Regions from separate parts of the Homo sapiens genome. Here regions 1, 2, 3, 4 and 5 are each linked to region 6. The links are contacts of gene promoters, found by promoter capture Hi-C in blood cells and fetal thymus (Javierre and others, 2016). All regions are on one chromosome and are shown on one strand. Each heading gives the region's core, a stretch centred on a gene start or on the middle of the fragment in contact. The rest is flanking DNA. Distances are from core to core; before and after follow the strand shown.

Evidence for each region. Contacts are between HindIII fragments. The CHiCAGO score rates a contact against its expected background, and 5 or more counts as called.
Region 1: a fragment that was not itself captured here is called in contact with the fragment with the promoter of ATP6V1D in region 6 in 1 of 17 cell types (neutrophils); the score reaches 16.5 in neutrophils.
Region 2: a fragment that was not itself captured here is called in contact with the fragment with the promoter of ATP6V1D in region 6 in 2 of 17 cell types (fetal thymus and non-activated CD4 T cells); the score reaches 10.5 in fetal thymus.
Region 3: a contact is called between a fragment that was not itself captured here and the fragment with the promoter of ATP6V1D in region 6, in 1 of 17 cell types (neutrophils). The highest score is 14.1, in neutrophils.
Region 4: a contact is called between a fragment that was not itself captured here and the fragment with the promoter of ATP6V1D in region 6, in 1 of 17 cell types (naive B cells). The highest score is 6.0, in naive B cells.
Region 5: a contact is called between a fragment that was not itself captured here and the fragment with the promoter of ATP6V1D in region 6, in 1 of 17 cell types (neutrophils). The highest score is 8.1, in neutrophils.

What each region holds. Positions count from the first base shown.
Region 1 is chr14:69,401,138-69,405,135 of GRCh38, reverse strand. The region is part of intron 1 of SLC39A9 (solute carrier family 39 member 9); the gene reads right to left. Among named protein-coding and RNA genes, the nearest start is that of SLC39A9, 4.4 kb to the right of the region's middle. The HindIII fragment of the contact is 2,472 bases long and covers 322-2,793 here.
Region 2 is chr14:65,094,836-65,098,661 of GRCh38, reverse strand. All of the region lies in intron 2 of MAX (MYC associated factor X), which reads left to right. Among named protein-coding and RNA genes, the nearest start is that of MAX, 5.8 kb to the left of the region's middle. The HindIII fragment of the contact is 1,288 bases long and covers 1,038-2,325 here.
Region 3 is chr14:69,754,736-69,758,804 of GRCh38, reverse strand. No RefSeq gene overlaps it. Among named protein-coding and RNA genes, the nearest start is that of SRSF5, 10 kb to the left of the region's middle. The HindIII fragment of the contact is 5,135 bases long and covers 1-4,069 here.
Region 4 is chr14:69,775,390-69,779,218 of GRCh38, reverse strand. It overlaps SLC10A1 (solute carrier family 10 member 1), which reads left to right. Exons shown (of 5, transcript NM_003049.4): 3 at 1-37; 4 at 690-886; 5 at 2,831-3,803. The coding sequence ends at 2,937. Among named protein-coding and RNA genes, the nearest start is that of SRSF5, 10 kb to the right of the region's middle. The HindIII fragment of the contact is 808 bases long and covers 1,966-2,773 here.
Region 5 is chr14:69,381,120-69,384,894 of GRCh38, reverse strand. The region is part of intron 3 of ERH (ERH mRNA splicing and mitosis factor); the gene reads left to right. It also overlaps a transcript of GALNT16 not described here. Among named protein-coding and RNA genes, the nearest start is that of ERH, 15 kb to the left of the region's middle. The HindIII fragment of the contact is 619 bases long and covers 1,129-1,747 here.
Region 6 is chr14:67,357,472-67,361,617 of GRCh38, reverse strand. ATP6V1D (ATPase H+ transporting V1 subunit D) reads left to right here and starts at 1,814. Exons shown (of 9, transcript NM_015994.4): 1 at 1,814-1,960. The coding sequence starts at 1,920. EIF2S1 (eukaryotic translation initiation factor 2 subunit alpha) reads right to left here and starts at 1,290. Exons shown (of 8, transcript NM_004094.5): 1 at 1,162-1,290. It also overlaps a transcript of GPHN not described here. RefSeq lists enhancers at 1,035-1,834, 1,855-2,074, 1,917-2,703. The HindIII fragment of the contact is 15,355 bases long and covers 166-4,146 here.

The DNA.
Region 1 (3,998 bases), core at 308-2,807, 2.0 Mb before region 6:
AGGTCATGCTGTTCTTGTGATAGTGAGTTCTTGCTGTTCTTGTGACAGTGAGTTCTCACGAGATCTGATGGTTTTATAAGGGGCTTTCCCCCTTTTGCTCAGCACTTCTCCATCCTGCCGCCCCATGAAGAAGGATGTGTTTGCCTCCTCTTCTGCCATGATTGTAAGTTTCCTTAGGCCTCCCCAGCTATGCTGAATTGTGAGTCAATCAAACCTCTTTCGTTTATAAATTACCCAGTCTCAGAAATGTCTTTATTAGCAGTGTAAGAATGGACTAATACAGACACAAAACTTTAAAACACGAAAGAACAAAACAAAGCTTAAAATGAGAGTAAGTATAATGAAGAAAAGAGAGTTAAATACTAAGAAAAATAGTATAAAGCAGGGAGGGTAGAGGAAAAGCCCTGGCCTCTCCAAATAGAATGGTAAATAGTAATGCAAACCAAACCCCACAACAAGACCTTTGGATTCCAAACAAATTGCCGAGAAGTTTCCATGACTGCGAAGGGGAGGAGGGGGAGGAGCTTCCCATTATTAAGTCTGTTTCCAAATAAAAGGTTTAACAATTATAAATTAGAACAAAGTTATAAAAATGAAAATCTTTACAAGTTTTTCTAATCAGTATTGAGAATCTGCCTCAATATTTTTGAAAGTTTTTATTATGTTCTAGACATAGTGTTAAGCCTGTGCTTATATTATTTCAACCTCACAACAATCCTAGAAGGTCATTTAACAGAAGAGATTTGGATTTTAATAGCTTGTTCAAGTAGTAACATTGACTTTGAATGATACTGTCTCAGACAGTCCCTTTTGAAATCAGTGCATTATTAATCATATTCATCTTTAAAATCATCCTAAGAATAGCACTACTTTCATCTGCCAACTTATGGATTTATGCTGTTGGTTATTTTAGGGAGTAGGTCTCCTTATGTTGCCAGTGGCTATTCACAGGCACACTCATAGCTCACTGCAACCCTGAACTCCTGGGCTCAAGTGATCCTCCCACATCAGCATTTGGAGTAGCTGGGACTAACCAGTGTGTGCCACTACATCCAGTTTTGCTGTTTTTGTTTGTTTGTTTTTTGTTTTTTTGAGAGGGAGTTTTGCTCTTGCTGCCCAGGCTGGAGTGCAATGGCGCAATGTTGGTTCACTGCAACCTCCGCCTCCCAGGTTCAAGCGATTCTCCTGCCTCAGCCCCCCAAGTAGCTGGGATTACAGGCACGTGCCACCACGCCCAAATAATTTTGTATTTTCAGTAGACACAGGGTTTCTCCGTGTTGGTCAGGGTGGTCTCGAACTCCCGACCTCAGATGATTCGCCTGCCTCGGCCTCCCAAAGTGCTGGGATTACAGGCGTGAGCCACCACGCCTGGCCTGCTTTGCTGTTTTAATACATGAAAAATGTGGCATTATAACTCAAACTGGTCTGCAATAAGAAAAGTATGGCAACTGAGATAAAGCCTTCAGAAATTTTTAGAGCAATATGATTATTACAATTATAGTAGTAATTTTTTATCTGTTGAATTTAACAATACATTTGGGCTTGTATTTTCTATGTCTTTTTTTCACTTCATTTTCCTACTATTTCATTTTTATAAGTGTATTGGTATGGATTGAAATAAAAATTAAAAACAAAAACTGATCCTTTACCAGGCAGTTTGAGGAATATTGCTGTAGAGCTCTGAGCCAAAAACAGCTTGCTCTCTGTTACCAGCTCTGTGACAAAGAGGAGACATACTCAGGTGAGTAACAACCCTCAGATAATCAATCTGAAATCCCACTTGAGCCATCTGTTTTTGTATCATAGCTCCATTTATCAACTGCAGCAGCACTGAGTTTATACTAGGTAATATAGGCTCTCAACCTACTTATGTAACATTGTTATTTAGAGCCAAAGAAAACTACTCATTAGCAATTCAATCGAAAAAACATAAGACAGTGTTAACTATAAACCAACGGGTCTCACTCCCTTACCAAACAGGGCTTCCTTTGTGTAAAGCATGCTTTGGCCTCCTTTATTTATTTATTTTTATTTATTTATTTTTATTTTTTTCTGAGACAAAGTTTTGCTCTTGTTCCCCAGGCTGGAGTGCAATGGTGGGACTCGGCTCACTGCAACCTCCGCCTCCTGGGTTCAAGCAATTCTCCTGTCTCAGCCTCCTGAGTAGCTGGGATTACAGGCACATGCCACCACGCCCAGCTAATTTTTGTATTTTTAGTAGAGATGGGGTTTCGCCATGTTGGCCAGGCTGGTCTCGAACTCCTGACCTCAGGTAATCCGCCCACCTCAGCCTCCCAAAGTGCTGGGATTACAGGCGTGAGCCACTTAGCACCTGGCTGGCCTCCTTTAAAAGTTAAAAGTGTTTCTCTTTCCTGTATACTGAAAAAATTTACATCCTGATTATCATAGTTACTTATAATTGCATTTGAGAATCGGATTTTTTTTCCTTTGTTTTATAAATTTTTAAGGCATGAAAGTACAGTTGCCAGGTCAAAGGGCAAGGAAGAAGGCCACAAAAGTATCAAGAAAGGTAGTTTTGGGGTGAGGAGAAACTGACAGAGAAATCAATGTCACATAAACCTCTTGGTGGGCACATCTGGCAGGTAGACCCCACCACTACTGCAATTTCAGACTACCTAATTTTAACTCGTTTTTAAATACTAATCTTGCCATAATTGATCATCTGACTTTTATTCCTGTTCTGAGATATTTTTAGAAAAAGTATTGAATGAGAAAGCAGCAGCAAGATTAAAAACATGAATAAAAAGCATATCTTTTCATGTAAATCAAGCTTGTCCAACTCATGGCTCGTGGGCCGCATGCAACCCAGGAGCACTTTGAATGAAGCCTTACACAAATTCATAAACTTTCTTAAAACATTATGAGTTTTTTTTTGCATTTTTTTTTTTTAGCTCATCACCTATCTTAGTGTTAGTGTATTTTATGTGTGGCTTGAGATAATTCTTCTTCTGATGTGGCCCAGGGAAGCCAAAAGATTGGACACCCCTGATGTAAACGAAAGTGAACTGTAAAACAGTAACACTAGCCTCTAAGAAAGCCAGACTTCCTTAAAAAGGCAAGTCATTTATCCAGTGTAGGAGTTTGGGGAATTATTTTCTAAGGAAAGAAATGGTGCTTTCCAGTCCCCCGTGAATGAAATTTATTTTTACAAATTTACCATCTCACTAGTTTCATTACAACATTGGTCCATAATAATGGCATAATTTACCTAGAAAATATGTTTAGTTCCTAGGAGATAGAAATCCTAGTTGAATTCTAGGATGTCTTTAAGTTATATATAACTTTCATTTTTTATTCTAATAGCTCAAAATGCATTGCATCTACTCTAATAATAAACAGATATTATGAATGCTGATTTTAGCATTTTAAGACCTACAGCTGGAAAAGACCATCTGACCGTCAATTTAAGAAAGCCACAAATGACATGACATACTAATTATCTGTATTAATGACCCAGTTATTAACACCACTCCTGTAAACATTTCCTTCTAGTGAAAAAGGAAATAGTATATATCCGCATATTGCAATAATCATTCAAGGTAGTTTGAAAAAATACTGGAATTGGTAAAGTTAAAGGCATTTTATAGAAATAAAAAGTTTTACTGGTTGCTTATCAGAATTAATTATGATTATTCATAAATGTTACTTCAATATGTTTAAAAATACACAAACCAACCCAAATCTCACACATGTCAGCCCTACTAATGTCAATTCAATTCTAATATAGTTATAAGAAAATATGGTTATGTCAAAGGAAACATAGCAGGTTCACAAAGTACTGGGCAGGCAGGTAACCCAAATAAGTGAAACAGGCTTCAAGGGCAAGGAGGACTGTGCCTAACAGCTGCTACTCAGCCCGACCCAACCTTTGCCTCTAGGAAATACTGGTAAAGAACAACAATAATAAACTTCTGCTAATGGAACAGTCTGCAGGCTGGATTTGGCACACAGGCTACCATGTATATGTACCATGTACC
Region 2 (3,826 bases), core at 432-2,931, 2.3 Mb after region 6:
GGAGGGAAGAGGTTGCATTTTAAAGATAAATTTGTGGGACAGGTATATTATATTGCAAGGGCTTCCTTTTGCTTTATTTCTGTTTGGGAAATTTCTTTAGGAAAGAGTGTAAGTATACAGGAAATGTATGGGTTAGTGTGTTGGTCAGGAAATGCAATTTTTTTTCCAGTGACCATCCTTGATGGCACCTGACTGAGTTGCAGTTGCAGTATACTTGTGAGGGGTTTGAAAACAGATTTGTGCAATTCCACTTCTGGACCTTTCTGGCATGAAATATTTTTAACTTCTCAGAGCTCTTTGCTTCTTTAGGAATATTCAGAAGAGAACGAGCTTGGTAGCCTCCGAGATTGGAATTCACTCAGGAAACTACTGTCTGTTTTACCTGCAGTCAGTTGCATGGCAAAAGTGCTGCACAATGCATGTACTTTTTCTCTGCTTAGAGTGTTGACAGTGATGCTTACAGTGATAACAAATGCCAGAGTTAGTTCCTAAATGTGCCTGTGTTAGGGTAAAAGTTGTTCTTATGTCTAAAAGAATTTTTCCAAGATGCCAGTAACGGTGAAATAGTTGGTCAAAGAATTCAGCTTGGTTTTTAATTAAAATTTCCTGACCAAGGCATCCTTCTCTGAAATGGCTATAGTATGAGGCCCTGTTTGGATTATAGCATTTGCCAGTTATTTTAGGCACCAAAAGAAAAAAGTTTGAAAACAAATACATACATTAGATAATGTTGGAAATGTATACCAGGCAATCAGCTACAAGCAGGACAGGTATTGGAAAATTGAAATCCATGTCTTTCTCTTAGGGAGCTTGGTGAGTTTATCCCATCCTACCTGCCTATTATTTTATGTTATAATTTTTGGGTTGATTAAAATGAATATTTTAAGTTGCTTAGAAATTGAGCTTTATCCTATCTTGTTCTTATCTATCAGAAGTAAGAAATAGATCTTTTCGGATGAGATTTTTGGGTCTGTGTATTCTCGTGTCCTTAGTCTCTAATAAGAATAGCTTGATAAGAATCATAAGCAACACAAGCTTCCCTCTAAAATACAACCTTCACATTTTGTAAAGGTAGTAAATATTGAGTGGGCAACTAATTCCCTATATGCTGAGAATTTTCTGTATTAGAATTGAGATGGTTCCCCTTATAGGTGGGGTTAGCTGTCAGGTAGCCTGTAAGACATGGCATTGTTCTGGAGAACCTTGTGCATCCTGGAATAATGAAGCATTTATTTCCCCGTGCTATTTGCCTAGAACTTGGAGGAAATAAGATTACTGACTGATGTGATGCCTTGAACAAAGATGCAGTCTCTCTGCAGTAAGTTGGAAGGAAATAATTTTAAGAGATTTCCCTCAATTTTGAACAGACCTCCTTAGCCTAGATGACTTCTTGCCAACATAGCAACTTCTTGGCTAACAAAATAATGTTTGTCTTCAACATCTAACAACACTTAAGATACACGTGCTTGGTAGTGTCAAAGATGGACAAATTGTAGGTGAAGATTTTTATTCTGTCTACCAGTGTGGAAAGTTGGGTAGAAATATAACTGAGAGGCTGAATAAAAACTTTGGCAGAGATGTCAAAGCTGGAAGTGATTTGGTGCGGGAGTTTCTGTTGAGCATCTGTGGACCACTGCATAGCCCCTTAGTATTTCTGTTAGGGATGCCCTGGAGGAAGGGTTTTCTGGCAGACATCCAGACGTACAAATCCAGCGTACTAGAAGAGTGGGCAGCATCCAGCCACTGTAACCATAGGATGTGTAGGGGAGATGTTTGGGAGCCTGCTGTACAGTCCAAGAATACCTCTGTGGTCTCCTAGAATAGGGCCTAATTAATTCCACAAGGGGGTTTTCCGTACCATTTGTTTTCATTACTGAACATCATTCTCAGTACAGGCTCATCTGAGTAGAGTTTTATTTGTTCAAGACAATTGTTTGGGCTTGTTTTTTAAAACCAGTTTTGCATTTGGGGGAGGATATTAGATGCCTTACACTGGGAGTCTTCACCCAGTTTTTCTTCTTCAACTCTGAAATCTTGGCCCTCTCAAAAAGGGTTGCCAGCAAGCAAAGACAGTTAACAAGGCAGTGATAAAGCCTGCAAACTAGTCCTCCAATGGGGGTGGGGATGAGGCGCGGGCAGTGTTATTGGTCTGGGTGGATCTGTGGTTTGGAAATGTTTCCCACAGAGAATTCTCAGCCTTGTGTAAAGGTTTTTCTGTTTTTCATGTGCTCTTTCAAAACATTAGTGATAACATTTAATTCACAGTTGCCTGGAATTAGGCTTGTTAGTTCTGCATGTTTTTAACTTGTTCTTTCAAATCAAGCTTGGGGAAGAGAAAAATACATCCTTGCCATTGTCTCTGAGAGATTTAAAATTGACTCCACTAGTAGCTCAGGGATGGACATGGCAGCAGGGATTGGTGTAAGATTCCACTCTTCTGCTAGTTAAATTGGGCCTGGAACCACTACAGAAATTCCATCCACTACTTTGAGAACAACAGTCCCCAGCCCAGGCTTTCTACCAGGCAGTGGACTGCTGCCTTTCCTTGTTGAGCCAACTTCTCAAACTTGGCTGGCTCCCCAGATGAGAAGCCAAGATTTCTGCTCATGATCTACAGCCAAGTTCACTTACAATCCTCCAACCGAGAGACTTGTCCATTTGAGTCCTTTCAGAGCTCAGTGAATGGGAGGGGGTAGTGCATTGTGGGGATGATTTTGGTGTTAGATTATACTTAGCTCCACCCCTTTAGTGCAGGTCCACGTGAAACCAAGTGCAACTTCATTCTAGCTGTTTGAGATTTGCAGGGCTCTCCCAGAAAGAAAACAGACAATTAGAATTTTATTTGTATCAACAAGAGGGATTGTGGGTAATTCTGGTGCACAGCTCTTAGCTGGGAGGAGGGCCAAGAATCAGGGTGATTTAGTAGACAGGAGTATCTTGGGCTGCTCTGGAGACCAAAGATGGGCAATTAATTTGCATGTAAATAAACCACCTTAGGTAGTATATAGCAAACAGGAGCCGCAGACACATGCCAAATATTGTCTCTTGGCCTTTAAGCTCCTTAGGTATAGTCGCAGCCCAACTTATCTTTATGTAGATGATCAGAGGGAACAACAGTAAGTTCAAAAGGACTAGATACTTAAATAGGTTCAATTCTGTCGCACTATTTCATGCTACTGTTAGAAGGCATCTATAATTTTGCGCTAAAGTTGTATGATACAGAGTACCTACCTCTACCCTCAGGTTATGTGGTGTTCCAAACTTGACTGTCCTCTCAGCTTCATATTTCATGTCACTATAGTTCAGTAAACATTCATTTTACAGTGAATCCAGACTTAACAAGATTAGGACAACTTTAGAAGTGCTCCAGGCATCTGCCCCAAAAAGAGAGATATGCTATGGAGAACCATGGTTGTCATGGGAACCACATGTCCAGTTCAACAGAGCTGTAGGTGAGGTATTATGTTTAAGAGACCAGGAAGTAACTCAGATGACTACAGGTGCTCCCAGTCTCCTCTTCCTCTGTAATGACTGGGACTTTTAGGATTAAATAACAGGAGAATTTCAAGTCCTTTCGTTTTCACAACTCTTGATAGATTTTTGTCTGTACATCTTCTCTAGTACAAGGATTAATGTGAGGCAGCATTATTCTTGTGCTAAGCCAAGTTATTTACTCTTGTTCCATTTTTTGAATTTCTGGCCCTCTGTTTGTATAGATTTAAGCTACCTGAACTTCCCATGTACAGACTGGCTCTCTAGATTAGCTCAGTGCAACGTTGTGCATTCAAGGTGAATGTTCAGAGCATAATTTCCGTAATTCCTAGAG
Region 3 (4,069 bases), core at 1,071-3,570, 2.4 Mb before region 6:
CCTGGTTATGGCCTCACATGGCTTTTTTTGGTGCATGCACAGAAAGACAGAGAGAAAGCCTCTACCTCCCAGGCTCAAGCTATCCTCCCACTCCAACCCTCCAGAGTAGCTTGGTCTACAGGGGTACACTACCATGCCCCGCGAATTTTGTTTATTGTTTTTTAGAGACGAGGTCTCACTATGTTGCCCAGGCTGGTCTCAAACTCCTGTGCTCAAGCAATCCTCCTGCCTTGGCCTCCCAAAGTGCTGGAATTACACCTAGTATGAGCCACCACGCCCAGCCTCTTCCTCTTTTTTAAGGGCATTAATCCCATAGGGCCCCACACTCATGACCTCATCTAACCCCACTTACATCTCAAAAGCCCCACCTACAAATACCATCATATTGTGGATTAGGATTTCAACATGTGAATTTTGAGGGGACACAGCATTCAGTCCACAGCAGAACGGATGCGCTGATCAGCATTAGCCAGTCAGGACCTATGCTATAAATGGGGACCTACATCAGAAATGAAGGAGGGGCAGCCCCACTCATACTATAGCTTGGCAATGTGGGAGGGGTTGTTTCCCAAAGGAAAATCAAGTGATTGTTTTACCAAAAGAGTGAATTGACATTGTGGTGGCCAAACCCCAAAGTGACCCCTAAGGATCCTCACATGCTGGTCTTCACACACACCCTCCCACATGCACTAAGTTTATTCTATGTAACCAATAGAATATGGCTGAAGTGAAAACGTTGGCAATTAGGTTTTAAAAAACTATGACTTTCCTCTCTCTCTCTCTCTCTCTCTCTCTCTCTCTCTCTCTCTCTCGCAAACACACACACACACACAAATGTATACATTACTCACTTGAGGAGAAGCCAGCTGCCATGTTATGACACTCAGACAACCTATGCAGAGGCTGACTGAAGCCTCCAGCCAACAGCTAGCAAGGAAAGAGTCCTGCCCACACCATGTGAGTGAGCTTGGAAGCAGAGTCTCCAGCCCCAGTCGAGCCTTGAGACGATGGTGGCTCCAGCTGACAGCTTGACTGTAACCTCACAAGCAACCCTGATGCTGAACCATCCCACTAAGGTGCTCCCAGATTCCTAACCCCCAGAAACCACATGAGATAATATGTTTGCTGGTTAAATTGGGGGGTAATTTGTCACACAGCAATAGGTAACTAACCCAGACGGTGAGGCAAAAATAGTTGTGCATTAAGTCAATCGTGGGATTGATGGGGCAGCAGCAAAGGGTGGAGACAAATTGGAGAAATATTGAGAGGACCAAGTATAACAACTTGGTGATCAATTTGACATAATAGATAAAAGAGAGATAAGAATAAAATTTCAAGCTGGGCACAGTGGCTCATGCCTGTAATCCCAGCACTTTGGGAGGCCAAGGCAGGCAGATTGCATGGGCCCAGGAGTACAAGACCAGCCTGGGCAACATGGTGAAACCCCATCTCTATAAAAACTACAGAAAAATTAGGCTGGCATGGTGGCACACACCTGTAGTCCCAGCTACTGGGGAGGCTGAGGTGGGAAGATCGCTTGAGCCCAGGAGGCAGAGGTTGCAGTGAACCAAGATTGCACCACGGCACTCCAGCCTGGGTGATAGAGTGAGACCCCATCTGAAAAAAATTTTTTTATTTAAAAAAGAATAAAATTGCACTTCCAGGCTGGAGTATGGGTATGTAGCATGGGTGCAATAGAGGGGTCAGAGAATAGAGAATGAACAGGTAATGCCCACGAGTCCACTCAGGCTCATTGATTTGGAAGTTTCTGGGCCATCCTAGGAGAAGATTCCGTCAGGCAGTAGGATGCATACGTCTAAAGCATAGGAGACAAATATGAGCCATTTTTTTTTTAAGTTGAGAAAAATCCCCATATATGTGACAGTTGATACCACGAAAACAGATAAAGTCACCCAGGTTTTTGTTGAGGCAAAGATTTGAAGGGAGAGCTCGGCACAATGGCTCATACCTATAATCCTAGCTACTTGGGGGGCTGAGGCAGGAGGATCACTTGAGTCCAGGACTTCAAGACTAGCCTGGGCAACATGACGAGACCCAGTCTCTGAAAATATTTTAACATTTTAGAAATTAAAAATAAATTGTTTTTTAAAAATTCAAGATGTGGAGGGAGTATTCTGTGCACAGATTAAGAATGTGTTTGCCTTGGAAGGAGCCTTCTAATGACCAGCGTGAAAAGGGCCATGAGCCCAGAAGAGCACACGTACAAATACTATGGGGGTGAGAATTCAAGGGAGATAAGCCGACCAAAGGCTTATAATCAGGGCTGGGACTAAGGATCACAGGAATATGATTAACTTGCCTTAGAATTCAGACAGAACCCTGGCACAATTGGTTTGTGTCCACTCTTGACCTGGTACATTTGTATATGTCAGTGTGGCTCACATGCTATGGATTAGTCCATCAAAAACACATTCCTGCTTTATTGCATTTTACATTTAATTTTAAATAAATGCTCCTTTTGGTTGTTATTACAAGGCATGTTAAGTGCATATTTAGTGTTTTGTTCTGGAAGCCATTTGCCAACCATGACCTGGTCTGACATCTGGGCCACAGTCACCACTGCTCAAATGTATGCCTTTCTCTAAATTTCTGTAGCACTTTATGCTTGTACATCTCCTCTAGCAGTTATCACAGACTTCCTTGGAATGTGATTATTTGTAGACAGATTATAAATTCTTTGATGTTAGAGACCCTGTTTTACAGATCTTTGCACCCTTCTCAGTGAGAAGCACAGTTTCCTGCTCATAATAAGTTGTAAACAAGTGTGCAAACCAGCTTGTACAGGACGTCACTTGGACTGGCTGATCAGTGCCACTCCCTGTCCTTGGATAATGTCATGTGCTGTTCTCATGGTTAAACTCTCTTAAGCAGCTATGTCTCTGCTGTCTAAAGCTACCCCTACTCATTACTAATTGTCTCATCATAGAACAATGCGTTTCTGTCTACCCTATGAATTTGCAGTTTTGAACTGAGAGGCCCAAAGGTGAAGCATCTTAATGACAGCAGGTGAGAAGAAAGGTGGCTTTCCCATCTGTGGCTGAAGTACCCAGGGCTGCCCTTGTACCAGCACCTCCTAAAATTGGGTTGTTTAAACCTCCCAGATCTCATGAGATGCCCCCAGCACCTTCCACTAATTTCCTCTCTCTGCTTAAGATGGCTCAAGTTGGCTTCTGTAACTTGAGAGCAAAATAGCTTAACATACAACATGATCCAGTGTAAGCAATCAAAAATGGATTTATTGTTAAGGATTCAGAAGTGTCTCATGAAATCCAAAGGTCAGAATGTGCTCAGGCCTGAGGAGGAGTCTGAAACAGGAAGTGGGAACTGTCAAGAACTCAGATACATACAATTTCCACCTCCCTCCTCTGTTTTTTTATGTCATTTGCTCACCTCCTGCAGCTTGGCTTTCCTTGCCTCTCAATCCATATGGGAGAAGATGACCACACCCTATCACCCAGTTTTCATATCCCTTCCATTCAAAAGTAGATCCCAGCCGGGTGCAGTGGCTCACACCTGTAATCCCAACATTTTGGGAGGCCAAGACAGGAGGATCACCTGAGGTCAGGAGTTCAAGACCAGCCAGGCCAACATGGTGAAACCCCGTCTCTACTAAAAATACAAAAATTAGCCAGGCATGGTGGCAGGCGCCTGTAATCCCAGCTACTCGGGAGGCTGAGGTGGGAGAATTACTTGAACCTCGGGGGGCGGAGGTTGCAGTGAGCCGAGATCACACCACTGCACTCCAGCCTGGGCAAAGAGCAAGACTCTGTCTCACAAAAAAAAAAAAAAAAAAAAAGGTAGATCCCAGAATGAGCATGTGAGTCTCAATTCCAAGTTCCCTGGAAAGGAAAACCTGATTGGCCCCGTTTAGGTAAGGTGTCTATTCTGGTCCAATCAAAGATGAGGTCACATGGTACAAACATGGCTGCCAAAGAGCTCACCTCATAGATGAGGATGATGTTTCTCAGTATTATTGTCAACAAAGGTGAAATCCCAAATGTTGAATAAACAAGCAGCTCCATTTCAAAATGGCCCTGACTGCCCTAGA
Region 4 (3,829 bases), core at 1,120-3,619, 2.4 Mb before region 6:
GTTATGTTCTCTCTGCTCTCTTCTGCCTCAATGGACGGTAGGTATTTTTTTTTTTTTTAAGAAAGGGTCTCACTCTGTTGCCCAGGCTGGAGGGGAGTAGCACATTCTCAGCTCACTGCAGCCTCAACCTCCAGGGTTTAACTGATCCTCCTGCCTCAGCCCCCCAAGTAACTGGGACTATAGGCACAAGCCACCATGACCAGCTGATTTAACTTTTCTGGAGACAGGGTTTTACCATGTTGCCCAGGCTAGTTTTGAACTAATGAGCTCAAGTGATCCACCTGCCTCAGCCTTCCAAAGTGCTAGGATTACAGGTGTGAGCCACTGCATGCCTGGAGATAGGTATTATTTTAGGTCCCACTGTCCCATGGGCTTCATTCTTGTCCTAGTCTTTCAGGAAACGAATAAGAAGCTAGGAACCTGAAATCTGGGCAAGACACTTTCCTGGCAATATGTTCAGATGCACTAACTGGACAAGAGACTTTAGACTTGAAAAAAATTGAATGAAGGTATTGAACGGGTTAAAAATCCAGACACCAAAGGTATCCAAACACCAGCAGCAATAGCAAAGTACCCCTGTCCAGGGTCTAGATTCCATCTGCTGCGAAACTCTTTGGTAGCAGCACTGGGACAAAGTTGCTCCCTCCAGTTCCCTCTGAGTGTATGTGGGGTTTTCTTCACCGGCACAGGTGCAGACGCACTGTCAGCATGGAGACTGGATGCCAAAATGTCCAACTCTGTTCCACCATCCTCAATGTGGCCTTTCCACCTGAAGTCATTGGACCACTTTTCTTCTTTCCCCTCCTCTACATGATTTTCCAGCTTGGAGAAGGGCTTCTCCTCATTGCCATATTTTGGTGCTATGAGAAATTCAAGACTCCCAAGGGTGAGTACTGAAATTATCCCCACTTCAAGTTCTGCTCCAATATTAGACCTGAGCCTGCCAACAAGCAAGTTTCTAGCAGGGACTTTTTGGATAGGGCTTTAACTCTTATCAAGTCACTAAGAACCAGGTAGCCCCAAGAAGCACCCAAGAAGCATTAAAGATCCAAGACTACTTCCATCAACTGCACTCCATTTCTTCCTTCTAGCTGGGAGAATGAAATTGCAGATGCAGTTTACCTCATAAAACTGAAGCAATTTGGGCTGCTTTGTCTCAGTGGGGAGACATCATAGGACAAAACTGCCTTGGACAACTGAGGTTATTAGTTGTGTGAAAGGCCTCTATTCGCAAGAGTTGGGGAAGTTTCCATTTCTCAGGACTAGGTTCTCATTTCCTGGAACCAGATCAGAGCCACAGCACCACTGGCACCTCCGTATGAGGAAAAACATATGAAAGCAATGCACCCTAATATAACCCAGAATAAAGAAAAAAAAAAAAGATTCCTCAACTCTAGTTACGCAGTAAAGGAAACTTAAGCATACGGTTGTTAAACAGTAACTACCTCCACAATAAACTTAATATGATTTATACTTTACTCTGATCACTATGGGGTTAACATAGCATCTCTTCTCTAAAATGCTCAGAGTATTACCTTTCAAAATAAAATTGAACCTCAAGACAGACCAGAGAACAGAGTGCCTTCCTCAAAGTGCACTTTAACACCAATTTTAAAAAAAAAAAAAAAAAAAAAAAAAAACAGGACATTCAAACCCACTTTATAACACATTTCATTATAACTCTCAACATTAGTATATTCTTCCTAAGTACCTACCCAAATCCTTCAACTGTCCCTTCATGTCCATGAATTGAAGTCCCCTTCAAAACCTTTCTAGACCCTAGGGACTGTGATTTACACCCTAGGAGAAATACACAACTTTCCCTATTGGAATTTGTTACATTATACTAGCAAGCAAATGCCGATTCTCTCTCCCTTTGCAATTAGCTAAGATGTAATTAGGTTGCCAAGCAGCCAACACGAAACAAGTACAGGCTGACCATACACTAGAACCATTTTAGAAGCTTTGGTTCAAAGCTACAGTAGAGTTGTGAGAAAGAATCTACTCTGATGCTTATCTGAGAGGAACGCAAGAGATTTGCTGCCCTCTTACAAAAAGTGCACAGAAGTTTCTAGACCAACCAAATTCCCAGATTTGAGGTTTTAGTACCAGAAAGACCTGAAGTGACCTCAAAGGACAATACTCTATGGATCTTTAGCTCTCAAGACTTGAAAAGAACTTTCCTCACAGTGTATCTCAGAAGACCCCAGTGGAAACACTAAATCAAAGCAACGTATTTCTTTGGACCTAATGGCCCCAAGAAGCTATTCTCAGGGGGGAGGAATCTGTCAAGTTTTTATACTTTTCATTCCTGCACCTGATGGGAGAACAACTCTGTATAGAGAACTCTCCCATCTGTATAGAAAGGTGCAGGAATCAAAGCTATCTTCAAATTTGCATCACCGCCTACACCACGGACAAGAAGAGGTAGATCAATTGGGGGTTGGAGGGAAGAACTGGAAACTCTCTTGGTTAGACTTTCTCGAAGATCTTTCCTGCCTGCCTCCTCATTCCCTGAATGCAACACAGACCTTGCATACATAAACTCATCTCCTGTTGTTTTACTGTATAACGAAGTTAGAAGTGAAGTGATGATGAAGACACAATAGTCTAATTCATTAGGACTTTTACTACTAGTACTACCATTAGGGAGACTGAGGGGAAAGTGAGTTTAAAGAGTAAACCATGGGAGAGACGACAGAGATGGAAAATATATACTTAGCACACTCTAGGGCTGAGTTGGTATTTTTGTACTTTCCAGATTAAACAAGCTTCATTGTTCACTCCTCTTGTTCTCTCTCTACACCTGTAACCCTTTTTAACTTTACAGATAAAACAAAAATGATCTACACAGCTGCCACAACTGAAGAAACAATTCCAGGAGCTCTGGGAAATGGCACCTACAAAGGGGAGGACTGCTCCCCTTGCACAGCCTAGCCCTTCCCCTGGTGGCCTGGATTCTGGTCCCAAAGCAATTCTGAAAGCCAGTGTGGTAAACTAGAGAGAGCAGCAAAAACACCAGTCTTGCCTGAGTCTTTCTCCAGCATTTCCAGTACATCTATCAGAATCATCAAGTCTTGGCCGGGAACACAGACAGGGTGTCTACCCAAGAAGCCTCACCTATCCCCAACTTAGAATTTGCTACTTATTTTAAAGACTTGTTCAGTGACTGTAAACTCTATGAAACCAGAAACCGAATCTGCCTCTTGCTGGGATCTCTAAAAGTGTCTGATAAGCATCTTAAAGTCACTCAATTCCTGAACTAATCAATATATATGTTTAACCCATTACTCAAATACCCAAATCCCATTCCAAGTTTTGTGACCCAAAAGAGAAATAAATGCTCACAAGTGCTGTAGAATTAAACTTCAGAAGTTCTAACCTAAAAAGTTCAGATCCTATTCCTTCCCTTTTGACATTATTGGGATGATGCTCCCGAAAAGTCAAATTTGACATCAAGTATGCAAAAGTGAACACAGTAAGATGCAATCAGGCAAAACAAACTCAAAAAATAGCTAATGAAATGAAAAAACTGGGCGAATGCATCATGTTAGTAGAGGAGGAAAACTTTTGACAAGGAAAAACCAGGAAACAAACACATACATTAACACAATGTTACCTCACTAATAATCTCTTTTTTAAGTTCAGTAGGTATTTGGTTTTAACACAAGGCGCCCCCAAAACTGGGTACAGCAAACTACTGCCAAAATGAGTCGTTTCCCAATTCAAAGAAAAATGTTCAAATACCTAGAATTCACAAATTTCAAATTGTCTCTAATAAAATTTAAACATTTTGCATATCATATGTAAATAAGGATCAAGTAAATGA
Region 5 (3,775 bases), core at 189-2,688, 2.0 Mb before region 6:
CTTCATGGAATTGGGAGGCCTAAGTGTTGACAGAATCATCCACTGGATATGAAATTACCAATAATGTGTATATTAATTGATAGAATTTAAGAAGAAGTTGCTTTGTGTTTGTTCACTGCTGCATCTCTGGTACATAATTAGTGCTGAGTAAATATTGGTTATATAAATGCACGTCACTTGTGTTGTTATTTGAGGAATAGCTTTCTAAAATTATTGATAATTTTCTATTTCCCTTATTTATATTACAGAGCTATATTCTGCATTGATTAAAAATTAATGGTTGTCTTTATGGTTTTATAAAAGAACCTTACTGAAACATTCAGGATGTAATCCTGACGCTTTTGGGATGTCATACTTACTCCCAGTAAGTGGGAAGTAAACTTGAAGCAAAGGATCATGTTTTACTTGTCTTGGGAGGCTGTGGTTAAGAGCTAGCTGGAGTGGCAGAATTAGACATAGCTGGGTTTGAATCCTGGGTCTACCATTTGCTAGCTCCCTTTGACAAGGCAGCTTTGTATTGCTAAACTTTAGTTTGCTAATTTGTAAAATTCAGACAAATCTAGTTCATAAGACTCCTTGTGAGGATCAAGTGCTTGCTGAGCACAGCATTATTAGATATGCAGCAACTCCCTTTTCAACTAGATTGAAGAAGTCAGGATAGAGTTTTATTTTTAATTACAAGCATGTTCTTAAATTTGCCAGGAGTAGAATGATATGAATTTTAATGTCTACGTGTGAGATAAATTATAAATTTCAAGGGAGATTTAAAAGGTGTTGAGGTTTTTTCAACAATATGAAAATTGAGCAGAGTAAAACAGTTACAAGTGACATGTTAATGATATACAAGTATGTCATTAATGACATAACATAACTTTTCTAACTTTGTACTAGACTTTATAAAAAAAAAATTTTAGAGACAGGGTCTTGCTATATTACCCAGGCTGGTCTCAAACTCCTGGGCTCAAGTGATCCTCCTTCCTCAGCCTCCCCAAGGAGTGATATTACAGGCATGAGCAACTGTGCCCGGCTGCATTAGACTTTAAAATGTAAACTAGAAACCATATCTAGCATACTAAACTGATTTTTAATACAATATTTGCTATATTAAAGCAACATAGGGGGAAAGCTTTAATTATTACCTAGATAATTCTTCCCACCTACAGTATTTCCAGAAATATAGAAGAGAGGTTAATGATAATTTATGGTTTTTTAGTAGTTTCAGAGTGTTAAAAACCGTAAATTATCATAGCTTGAAAACCTGTAACTATTTGTTTGTTTCTAATGTTGAAAATTTTTTGGCCTCTGAAAAACTTTCAGAATCAAATTTAGGATTTAAAACTATTTTCCCCAGGTGACTTTGGTTATGTCCTTTTTGTTCTTTGAATATTCAGGAGAAATAAGGTATTGTTTCCAAAGAGGTAACCCACTGCCACAGCACATCCTGTGATTTGGGCCGTTACTCCTCAGACCAGAGACTGGGTCCGTTTTTGGTTTGTAGATGGTTGTGTGCTCATAGTTTCTATTAAATTTACATGGCAGTGACCTAGGACTTTTTTAAATTAATTCTTTTTAAACAGCGTAGGTGGAAATGGAATAAATAAGATTCTACTTTGTAACATGACTAAACCCAGAGCAAACTGACCATGCATTAATAATAAAATGTAGGCATGAAAATTTGTATTTCGTATACTTAAAGTCAGAGTCAGATTTTTCCAGTTTTCTGATCTGTATGTTTTTTAAATAAGCTTTTTGTAAGATGAAAATAATGCCCTTTTGATTATGCAGTATTTTCTTGTTTGCTTAGAGACATAAAGAACATTTAAACTGTCAGTTATTATAATGACAAGAGGTATTCCTGATCAGTAAGAGAAGTTATCACTGAAGACATTTCTGATTTCACTGCCCAGACCCACAGCTTCTGTTCTTATATAAACCTACATTCATTGACCATAACAATAGGTTAAAAGATTCATCTGTGCCAATGACTAGGCATTTTATTAAAGTATTTAACATTTAATTGTCTCATTTTCAAGTGCCAGTTAACAGCCATCGACACACAGCTTTCCATAAAGAAGGCATTATTGCTTTTTTTTTTTTTTTCTTTTGGAGATAGAGTCTTGCACTGTCGCCAGGGTTCAAGCGATTCTCCTGCCTCAGCCTCCCGAGTAGCTGGGACTACAGGTGCGCGCCACCACGCCCAGCTAATTTTTGTATTTTTTTTTTTTGGTGGAGACGGGGTTTCACAATGTTGGTCAGGATGGTCTTGATCTCTTGACATTGTGGCCCGCCTGCCTCAGCCTCCCAAAGTGCTGGGATTACAGGCATGAGCCACTGGCACCTGGCCTACTATTTGATGAGTTGGAAAATTGCATGCAAGTTGATGGATTCCTTAATGTTCACAAACCAGAGTGATTTTTGTTGGGGGGAATGGTATAAACAAAGCCTGTCCCACCCAGATATGATAATTGTGAGAAATTTTGTTCCTTTTTAAGTTATTTTCCAGTGTTAATATAAATGTTATAGTCTCTTCTGCTACATTTTGCAGTAGACTAGCTTAGAGCTTATTTAATTAGGAAGCATGGACAAAGAGTTTTCAGAAAAAATTAAATTTTAGAATTTTTAAATTTGGTTAAGCATTTTTAAAAATGGGAATCTTGTACATTTTTAATAAACCAGATTGTGACCTTACTGTTCAGAGGAAGAATATGATGTTAATTGTATAAAGCATTCCTACTTTGGAATTTATTTCCCTTGCCAAAAATTGTAGTTTAGGTTTCTAACTTAGTGATTAACAGTGAGGACTCTGGAGTCAGGAGTATTTAAAATCTATCTCCAGTCCAGCATTACCTAGCTAATAACTTGCTTCACTTTTTAAAGCCTTGGTTTCTCATTTATGAAAAAGGAGGCCAGGTGCGGTGGCTCACGCCTGTAATCCCAGCACTTTGGGCGGCCGAGGCGGCTGGATCACTTGAGGGTCAGGAGTTCAAGACCAACCTGGCCAACATAGTGAAACCTGGTCTCTACTAAAAATACAAAACATTAGCTGGACGTGGTGGCACACACCTATAGTCTTACCTACTCAGGAGGCTGAGGCAGGAGAATCATGTGAACCCAGGTGGCAGAGGTTGCAGTGAGCCAAGATGGCACCACTGCACTCCAGACTGAGTTACAGAGTGAGATTCTGTCTCAAAAAAAAGCAGGGGTCGGTGGTGGGGGTGGTGGGAAGTGAGGATAATTGTACCTACTCACAGGGTTGTAAAAATGAGTTAATTCAGATAAGAATTTAAAGCGACACCCAGTACTCTGTGACATCTTACTAGATACTACTCACAGTCCCATTGGAGTTTTACTGCTAATGCTAGTCTGTGTACTCCTTTTCGTTCTGATTAGAGATATTTTGGAGCTTACTGTATCTTCTGATAATTCTTCTCCATAGGCCTCTAGCATTATTTATTTTAAAAAGCAAATCCTAAAATATAGGTTTAAGATTTCCTTAATACTTTACAGGGGGAAGGAAATTAGCAAGAAATCTTTGTTGCCAGTACATGTTTTTTAAAGGTTTTTTAGTTAATTCAGAATAAACATTGCAAATCTAAAGTTTGTTCTAGTATTGTTGTTTTTGTTTTTTTGAGATGGAGTCTCACTCACAGGAGTGCAGTGGCACGATCTCGGCTCACTGCATCCTCCACCGGTTGAAGCAATTCCCTTGCCTCAGCCTCCTGAGTAGGCAGGACTACAGGCGTGCACCACCATGCCCAGCTAATTTTTGTATTTT
Region 6 (4,146 bases), core at 565-3,064:
TGCATGGTCAAACTGCTATAATGGATATAGAAGTTCACATTCCTTTCCAAAATATATTATGTGATGGGGACAACTCTCGTGATAATTCTAATTTGGATCTAACACGTATTAGGAATGCTCTCTGAATGCTAGTTCTTGGTATAGGAGTGCTACATAAGTAAAGCTTTTATTTCATCATTATAGTTGAAAAAGAAAGTTATCACCGAATCTCTACAAACATTACTGTGCATGAGACAACTACATCTTTTGGCACCAGATGAACTAAGAATAGGTAGCAAAGTTCTGTACAAGTCACCCCCAAACTATTGACAGAGATTGTTCCTTGAATAACAACTCAATTGAGGGGAAATAAAGACTTCTCTGCTATACTTTTTCTCGAAGAAACCATGTTTTTTGCTTAATAAAAATTTAAAAAGCCTAAGTTTTGAGGATAAAGAGACCTCAGCATGACTGTGTATTTAACCCGAAAATATATCCTTATCTTAGGTTTTAGTTATGCTTAACTAACATAGTTAACCTAACATATGCTTAACACAGTTCTATTCTCATTGTCGCCAAAATACGACAAACTGATAGTAACAGTAATAAACTCAAGTCTCATTTAGTTTTGGTTCAAGGGGTGACTCATTCAATTATCAGATGAAAAACTACTCGGACCCCGCTCTTTCCAACACGGTGCCCGTCCCACAGGTTTCTCAGGTAAGAGGCCAGTTTGGTTTCCACTGAGACGCAGGGGAAATTTTTGGTAGAGCTGTTGGGGCGGAAGAAAAGATGGAATTCTCAAGCCTGGAAAAAGCAAAGTGCTCAGCGTCCTGAGCCGGGGTTAAGAGTTACGGTGTCACAGCGTTCTCCTGAGACCGCCCCATCGTCATGGCATTCTCACTTTCGGCATATTGTAGAGGCTGTACAATCCACTCGGCCCACTTTCCTTCACGAGATTCCTCTGCTCGAACAACGATGCCTCTGGAACACAGGATGACCTACACGGAGCCGGCGAGGAGGCCCACGACAGCGCGGGTGGTGGCGGTGCTGTCCAGCCACTTCCCGCGCAGGGACGGGAAAGGGAGGTATTAGCCCGGGGCCTACCCGCTCTCGAACACCCATGTCACTGGACACAAACCAAAGTGAGTTCCTGGAGAAACCGAGCTTGGGATTAGTCACCTGAGGTATGTGTGTGATTCCCGCACTGGAGCCCAGAGCCGACTTCTTCAATCACAGAGACCAGACTTGCTTCCCCCTCACCGGCCGCCGATCCTCCTCAGCGTGCGCTTCGCTCACTCCACCGCGCATGCGGAACCTCCTCGCATGCGCAAGCGCTGAACGAATAGAGGCCCCTCTTCATCATTAACCATAGAGTCTGGGTCCTCCGAGAACAAGGACGAATGTAGATCATGGAAGGACCTGAAAAGTACTGTTTCTCGCTATCTTAGCTTTAGCTAAGTAACCTTCAAGGCGCGAGAAAGACATAGGACTCCGATTCCTTGCCTCTGAAGAATGAATCCTCTTTCAAAGTTTCAGCTAACCATGAGATGGCGCTGTGACCAAAGACGAAAGGTGGAGAAAGACAAGGCGTGCACGCTTCGCTCCTAGTCTTTGGCCTGGCGCGTGCCGCGTATTGCGCAGCCGCAGGGAAGCTGGATGGGGAGGGGTTGGGAGGCGAACCGGAATTGAGGGGTGGTTCCGCGGTGCGCGCGCCTCGACATCCGGGCAACGCCTCTGTTCTGTCCTCCCCCTTCGTCGCCTGTGACAACCGGAAGCGGAAGTGAAAATGGGTGTCCCTGCTGCCTCTTAGCAACAAGAGGGGTCAAGTGACACAACCAGCTGACTCCCGTAGAGGAAGACACTGTGGAGGCCAGTTCTGGAGCTATTGCAGCCTCGGTTGCCCGGCCGGGGACCCGAGCCGAAAAGTTATCGTCAGAATGTCGGGCAAAGACCGAATTGAAATCTTTCCCTCGCGAATGTAAGTAAAGGAATGGGATAAGCCGCTTTCACAGGTTTAGGAACCCGGAGCGCGGTCCCTTCAGACCCTGGGCCACAGTGAGGGTCCTTGTTTCCTGGGAGGATCCTGAGCTTTTCCCAGGTTCTTTTCTTGAGTCTAGGGCGAGGCTTCCTGACGGCCTCTTCGCGCATTCCTCCTGAGTGAATCAGGCTGGACGAAGCGATCCCAGCCGGTAGGAAAAGGCGCCCGGCCGGCGGGCTTTTGTGGAGGTCTGCTGTCTTTATTCATTAATGGATTCATCCATTCCACATACCCTTATTGAGCCGGGCACTGGATTTATATAACTGAACCGTCGCCACCTCTGCCCTACAGAGCTCACAGTTTACGTAGCCAGACATTCGTCTGGAAAGGCCAAGGAGGTTTTAATAAATGCTCTGAGAAGGGAAGTTTACTGAGGATATAGAAGAGGTCCCTAAGCCAAAGTGGGGATGGAATCGAATCGCCCTAGCATAGCCCTCGGATTCGATCTTGGATCCCCTTACTCATTTTCCAAGATCCCGCCAAATGTCACCTGCTGTGAGAGGATATCCCTGTGTTTCTGAGGCACTGCTTTTGCTCTCTCACCGCTGCACCTTGTTCAGACCTGTGTTAATACCGGTCATCACGCTGTAAAGTAGATATTTGTTTATGTGTCTTTCTCTCCCACTAGACTGTGGGCTCTCTCCAGGATGAAAGAGTGTCTTAATCCATAGAAGGTCCACAAAAAAATATTTCTTGAAAGAACTCATGCTTGGGAATACGCTCAGTTGTGGGCTGCCTTTCTTTTGGGGCCTGAATTCTTTGTCAGGAAAATGGCATATCACTGTAGGTGTTTGGCTAGTTTGTAAGGAAAATTTTGACGTTTTCTCAAATGTGCCTAACAACTTGCTCCCTTTCTCCTCCTCATCCTGTTTATTTTTATTTAGTTTGTTGTTTGTTTGTTTTAATAAGAGACAGGGTCTCCCAGGCTGGGGTGCAGTGGTATGATCAGAGCTCACAGCAGCCTCAAACCCCTGGGCTCAAGTGATCCTCCGGCCTCAGCCTCCCTGGCGGCTGAGATTATAGATGGGAGCCACCGCGCCTGGCTTTCCCTTTTTCTTTTCAGTGAGGAAGCAGAAAATCAGTTTTGACCCTGACATTTAGACCCTTTTATTGTGGTCCTATCTCTGTGGGGGTGTTTTGTTGTTTTTCCTCATTCTGTCCTTTGAGAGAATCTGAGGATGCTTAAAATAAAAGTTATATTCAAACCTGAAGCCCAGATTTCTTTCTGCCCGGTGACTAAATAGCTCTTAATGAAATGAAGTTTTTAAATTTTTTACCTTCACCTGTTGACTTTCTAATAGCTGTTTGCACTAAGTAGGCAGCAAGCTAGTTGTGGGGAAATAAAGATGAGGACTATCCCGAGGTAGTGACAACTGCAGAACTCCTAGGACGTGATGACTCAGTCAAAACTTCTGCACTGAAAGACATCGACACTAGTTTATCTTCTAGCAATGTAAGGCCTGCCCCTAGGGTGACCCCAGGCCGCCCCCCGCCGCCCCCGCCATTAAAATGCCTGCCTGAAAAAGCTCAAAGCTAGGGGGAGAATTTACTGTTTGTTCTAGTCAACACCTAATTGATAGACCCCTCTCGTTCCCTTTTTAGAGCATTTACGAAACAGGCTTACAATTGTTAATATGTATCTCTTCCAACTCTGAAGTGTCCCTTCAAGTATCTTTGAGAGCCATTTCTTTGAAACGTAATCATCAGGAGGGATAGGGGCTTTGTCTCCCAGTCTGTGTGAGAGGATAGAATAGTAACTTACTAATTGCCAGGTAGTATGGCGTTTACACTGACCAACACTTTAAGGTTTCTCTTCTCTGACTCTTCTTGCGGCTGGCTCCCTGCCACTCCCTTACTCTCTTTTTTAAAATGGCCAGTCACCTCTGCACAAATGAGAATTGAGCTCAGCCCTTTCCCCTACTATCAGTGGTTTACTGAATAAAATCTGTTTTCACTACTTTAACGAATGTCTGGCTGGGTTTATCTTTGACAGCAGTCAGAATAACTTTTTTGTTTTTACTTTGAAACTTTTACTTTGAGACTAAGAGGCAAAAATAGACATCTTTGGGCTTAGGTAAGAAAATGATAGGCTCATGAAGGTGAAACTACTATTTGAAAGCTCTCAG